Linked DNA regions of Homo sapiens: region 1 is linked to region 2. Evidence: promoter capture Hi-C in human tissues and cell types (Jung and others, 2019). All regions are on one chromosome and are shown on one strand. The core of a region is centred on a gene start or on the middle of the fragment in contact, and the rest is flanking DNA. Distances in the headings are between cores, read along the strand shown. Region 1 overlaps EHD1 (EH domain containing 1). Region 2 holds the start of SNX15 (sorting nexin 15).

Region 1 (2,837 bases), core at 173-2,672, 160 kb before region 2:
TGGCCTCCAGCCTGGACGGGGAGGCCCGATCAGCCTTCCAGAGGCTCAGGTGGATGGTCGGAGACAGCAGAGCTGCCAGGTTCCCTGTGCCCAGAAGGTGTGGAAGGGCATCGTGCCAGGGCACCTCATGCCACCACAGGCTCCTGCTTCCAAAGTACAAGGCCCCGGGCACCCGGACTCCCTGCAGCTGGCTCTGAGCTCCACAGGAGAGGATGCCCAAAGAGTGAAGTCTCGGCAGAAAACCAGAAAGAGAGGCCAAGGGCAACATGAGGGAAACAGGGGCAGGGAGAGGCCGCCTCTGCCCCCGGGGGATGAGGCCACACTAGCTAAGCCTGCAGCGCCTGCCTGGGGCCCGCAGCCCACAGCCTTTTATGGCCAGCTCTGGGAACGCAGGTCAGTACTGAAAAGGCGATGACTCAAGGACTGAGGTTCCTCGCTCAGCAAAAAGGGGGCCCAGCTTCTCCCCTTGTCAAATCATTTGTCTTCAGCCCGCCACAAGCTGAAACTAGAATTCACACAGCTGGGGAGGCTGTGATGCCAAAACCGAGTTCTTGGGAATGAGGGCGCCCTGATGGGCTGTGCTCAGCCCATGTTAGCTTTGGCCTGGGAGTCAGGACGGCGCCTGGGGAGCTGAGGTCACCCTCCCAAACTCCACCCAGCAAGGCCCCACTCCCCCCTCCCCCTGGATGGCTGGGGGGCCCTGGGGAAAGAGAGAAAAAGGAGGGGAAGGAAGAAAGAAGAGTGAGCACTCCAAAACTCCCTGCCCCAGGTCCAGAAGCCCTGCCCCACCTGCTCTGAAACCCAGTTACTGGCCGTCATCTCAAGCTGGAGTCAACAGAGGTAAGCCCATTTCTTTGCAGGTGACTAAAATTTCCTGTTTATTACAGAAAATGTGCTTTTGCTGTGAGGGAAACACAGTGACTGGCCAGCCACACCCACAGGTGACAAAAAGGGCCACAGCACTCAGGCCTGTGCCATGCAGGCAGTGACCACGTAACTGCACGCCCCACCAGGCCCACCGGCGCTCCTTAGCCCACCAGGCCCTCGCTGCCCTCAAAGGCACCTCACTCAGCCTAAAAGACGCCGGGTTTCAAGAGGTGCCAAAGGCTACACTGCACAGCGGTAACACTGAGCCACTCTCTAGATCAGAGCTGGACGGCCGGTATCAAGTACAGAACAGGGCTTGCCAGCACCCCCGGCACTGCCCAAGGCAACAAGACTTCAGGCTTTGGCACCCACCAAGGTAGGGGCCTTGCTGTTAGCTTGACTAGCTCAGGCCCCAGTGGGAGTGACAGAACTGATGCCGAGCAAAAGGACACAGAAAACATGGCCCAAGCGGGTGGGCTGGAGAGAAAGGCCCACCTGCAGAGGGAGTGGTTTTAGTGAGTAAAAGCCAGAGCCCCCTCTGATAAGGGATCATAAGCCACCAGGAAGCTCTAGCTCAGAAAATCCTGGGACCTAGAAGACATGATGCTAAGTGATGAAATAAGTCTGTGACCTTTTCCAAAGATGACACACACGCGGCCAACGAGCATATGAAAAAACTCTCAGCATCACTAATCATTAGAGAAATGCAAATCAAACCACAATGAGACAACATCTCATAACAGTCAGAATGGCTATTATTAAAAAGTCTAAAAATAACAGATGCTGGTGAGGTTGCAGAGAAAAGGGAACATTTATACGCTGCTGGTGGGAATGTAAACCAGTTCAGCCACTGTGAAAAGCAGCTTGGCAATTTCTCAAAGAATTTAAAACAGAACTACCATTCGACTCAGCAATCACATTACTGGGCATAAACCCTAAGGAAGAGAAATCATTCTGCCATAAGGACACATGCACACATACGTCCATTGCAGCACTATTCACGATAGCAAAGATGGAATCCACCTAAATACCCATCAACAGTAGACTGGATAAAGAAAACATGGTACATATACCACAGAGAATACTATCCACCCATAAAAAGGAACAAGATCATGACCTTTGCAGCAACATGGATGGAGCTGGAGACCATTATCCTCAGCAAACTAACACTAGAATAGAAAACCAAATACCGCATGTTCCACACCAAATACCGCATGTTCTCACTCATCCATGGGTGTGAAACATTGAGTACACATGGCAACAAAGAAGAGAACAACAGACACCAGGGCCTACTTGAGGGTGGAATGGGTGAGGACAGAAAAACTGCCTAGCAGGCTGGGCATGGTGGCTCACGCTTGTAATCGCAGCACTCTGGGAGGCTGAGGCAGGAGGACTGCTTGAGTCCAGCCTGGGTAACATAGCGAGACCCCCCTCTACAAAAATTTAAAAAAATTTGGGTGTGGTGGCATGCATCTGTATTCCCAGCTACTTGGGACACTGAGGTAAGAGGATTGTTTGGGCCCGGGAGGTGGAGGCTACAGTGAGCTGTGATTGTGCCACTGCACTCCCAGCCTGGGTGACAGAGTGAGACCCTGTCTCCAAAAAAAAAAAAAGAAAAGAAAAACTACCTATCAGATACTACGCTTATTACCTGGGTGATGAAATAATCTATACACCAAACCCCACCACACTCCATTTACCTGTATAACAAACCTGTACATGTACTCCTGAACCTAAAAGTTTTTTTAAAACATCCTGCCACAAAAGGACAGATACGGCACTGTAGGATTCCACTGACAGGAGATACCAGGAGTAATCAAGTGCACAGAAAAGGAATATAGAATGGGGAGTGCAGGGGCTGCGGGGTGCAGGGAGCCACGAGGGGAGCTGGTGTTGAACAGGAAGAGTGTCCATTTGGGAAGTGAAGAGCTCTGGAGCTGGATGGTGGTGACGGCTGAACAATGAAGAAT
Region 2 (3,007 bases), core at 118-2,617:
GCCACCACGCCCGGCCCCCATCTCTCCTCTTTAGGGTGGCTCATTGGGATCCATTTTGTTAACACCAACAATTAGTTTCACACCCAGCGTGTAAGACAGAAGGGTGTGCTCACGCGTCTGCCCATTCTTGGAATTACCAGCTTCAAATTCATCAACACCAGCAGCAACAATCAGGACAGCACAATTAGCCTGAGGTCAGGTTTTTGATAAAGTCTCTGCATCCTGGGCCATTGAGGATGGTCACATAGTACTTGCTGGTCTCAATTGCCAGCAGGGAGGTATCAGTGGTGATACCACTCTCACGTTCAACTTTCAGCTTACCCAAGACCCAGGTATGCTTGAAGGAGCCCTTTCCCATCTCAGCAGCTTCCTCAAAATTGTCGATGGTTCTTTTGTGGATCCCACCACACTTGTAGATCAGATGGCCAGTAGTGCTGGACTTGCCCAAATCAGATGATGATGTTGAGCTGAGTCTTTTCCCTCCCCTGCTCCCTTTCTTTTGAGATGGAGTCTCACTCTGTTGCCCAGGCTGGAGTGCAGTGGTGTGATTGCAGCTCACTGCAGCCTCAACCTCCTGGGCTGAAGCCATCAGCCAGCTCAGCCCCTGGAGTAGCTGGAATTACAGGCGTGCGCCACCACGCCCAGCTAATTTTTGTATTTTTAGTAGAAACGGGGTTTCACCATGTTGGCCAGGCTGGTCTTGAACTCCTGACCTCAAGTGATCCACCTGCCTCCACTGCCCAAAATGCTGGGATTACAGGCGTGAACCACCGCGCCAAACCCCCATTTTGGCTTTGATTTAACGGTGGTTTTCACGACACCTGTGTTCTGGCAGCAAACCCATCGCAAAAAAGCTCCACTGCCCTACACAGATTCTATTATAAACATCTCCATTCTACAGATGAGAAACTGAGGCTGAGTAGTTAAGGGAAACTCCTACAGCTAGTAAGAGTCGTGACTCAGAGCCCATGACACCATCCTGCTTCTCCAACCTTCTTTGCTTCCTCTACTTTCCAGAAAACATGAATTAGGGAATCCTGTGGAGGGAGACAGGGAAATAATTTGACGTTGTCCTGTACATACTGGACACAATAAGAGTTGGGTGGATGAACGAAAGCAGGGATTTAGGAAGCGGGGAGAAGTCGTTTGGAAGTCTGTGACAAGGGTTTACGCTTGGATAGGGTGGGCTTGATCACCCGGCAGAAATGAGACGAGTGATCCCAGCCTTCCCAACCAATCTTTCCAGTGACCTGGGTTTACGCTTCACCACAGAGAAGGAACTTTTCAGACGCTCCCTTGGCCGCGCACCCGGGATCGGAACAGCGCTGTCACTTGCGACAAAATCCCTAGGCCAGAGGAAGAAGAGCGCAGGCCTGGCGAGGCGGCGGCGGGCGGAGGCTGGGCCGGAGGGGTGGGGACGGCGAGGAGGTGGAGGCCGGCGCTCCGCTCCGCTCCAGCTCGGTTTCATGTCCCGCCAGGCGAAGGATGACTTCCTGCGGCACTACACAGTGTCGGACCCCAGGACTCACCCCAAGGGCTACACCGAGTACAAAGTAACCGCGCAGGTGAGGTGGGGCCCAGCGCGTACTTTACCCTTTTAACTAGAGGGGCGCCGAGTTTTACCTTAAGGAAAGGCGGTGCAGCCACTGCTCCCTTTTTAGACGACAGAAATGGGTTTCCCCTTTAAGGGGAGGTTGCAGTACGAGGCTTAGTTTACATCTTTAACCACCAGGGGGCGGGGTCCTGGGTGGGCGCTGTCTTTTTTAAAAGGGCGTTGACGGCCGTTCCCGGACAGGCAAGGCGTGTATGCCCACGCCCGGAGTGTAGTGTCTGGGCATCAGGCTGTGAATTTCTCTAAATTAACATGAAAACTCTGGTTTAATCCAAATATTAGTACTCCATTCTCGTAGAGTAAGTTTTGTTTATTGGTTTGTTTGATGTTACATAAACTCCCTTTAACGAGTTTAACCATTTTTAATTTTTCAAAAAATAATACTGATCAGTGGTTGAAAAAAATTGATGCAGTTCAGAAGGACTTAAGGAGTAAGTCGCCATATCAAGGTCACAGCAGGAAGATAGATAGGCTAGAGTTGATATATGAAGCGATAACAACATCATAAGCACAATTTATAGAGAGACATGGAGGAAACCATGACAATAATTAAAAATGAAACAGTAAAACAGGACACCTGTAGAATGATAACAAGAACTGGTAACAAGGAAGGTCCCCAGGGAGAGGAACTGTGTCACTGGGGACAGGAGTTAGGGGAAGACTTTTTACTGTAAATTTTTTGTACTTTTAGAATTTTCAACCAGGCGACTATTAAGCTGGTGCATTAGTTAACTCTAAAAGCAAAGCAGGCACATAAGGACACTTCCAAAGTGATCTAAGTGCAGAATCTTAGCTATTTAAAATATGCTTTCCCCAAACCGTTTACGTCTTTTCCATGCCTAAAAATAATGCAAATAAGGCCGGGCTCAGTGGCTCATGCCTGTAAATCCCAGCACTTTGGGAGGCTGAGGCAGCAGATTGCTTGAGCTCAGGAGCTCAAGACGAGCCTGGGCAACATAGTGAGACCCCGGATCAATATTAAAATACAGACACACACACAACTTTAAAAAAAAAAAAAAAAAAAGCAAATAAATAGATTGTCCCTGGGAAGATAGACTGGAGGTGGGGCTGGGGTGGGGAGGATGTGGCAAGGAACTGTAACCTTTTATTATAAGTCTTCCCAGTGGTGGCCGGGCGCGGTGGCTCACGCCTGTAATCCCAGCACTTTGGGAGGCCGAGGCGGGCGGATCACGAGGTCAGGAGATCGAGACCATCCTGGCTACCATGGTGAAACCCCATCTCTACTAAAAATACAAAAACTTACGGGCGTGGCAGCGTGCACCTGTAGTCCCAGGTACTCGGGAGGCTGAGGTAGAAGAATGGAGTGAACCCGGGAGGTGGAGCTTGCAGTGAGCCGAGATTGTGCCACTGCACTCCAGCCTGGGAGACAGAGCG

What was found. Contacts are between HindIII fragments. The study calls those that stand out against the background at their distance.
Region 1: a contact is called between a fragment that was not itself captured here and the fragment with the promoter of SNX15 in region 2, in 1 of the 25 tissues and cell types used here (aorta).

What each region holds. Positions count from the first base shown.
Region 1 is chr11:64,864,214-64,867,050 of GRCh38, forward strand. The region is part of intron 2 of EHD1 (EH domain containing 1); the gene reads right to left. Among named protein-coding and RNA genes, the nearest start is that of MIR10392, 13 kb to the right of the region's middle. RefSeq lists an enhancer at 1,609-1,908. The HindIII fragment of the contact is 8,078 bases long and covers 1-2,837 here.
Region 2 is chr11:65,026,072-65,029,078 of GRCh38, forward strand. SNX15 (sorting nexin 15) reads left to right here and starts at 1,368. Exons shown (of 8, transcript NM_013306.5): 1 at 1,368-1,565. The coding sequence starts at 1,467. It overlaps ARL2-SNX15 (ARL2-SNX15 readthrough (NMD candidate)), which reads left to right. Exons shown (of 11, transcript NR_037650.2): 4 at 1,247-1,565. It also overlaps the pseudogene EEF1A1P18. RefSeq lists an enhancer at 1,186-1,480 and a silencer at 1,330-1,499. The HindIII fragment of the contact is 29,710 bases long and covers 1-3,007 here.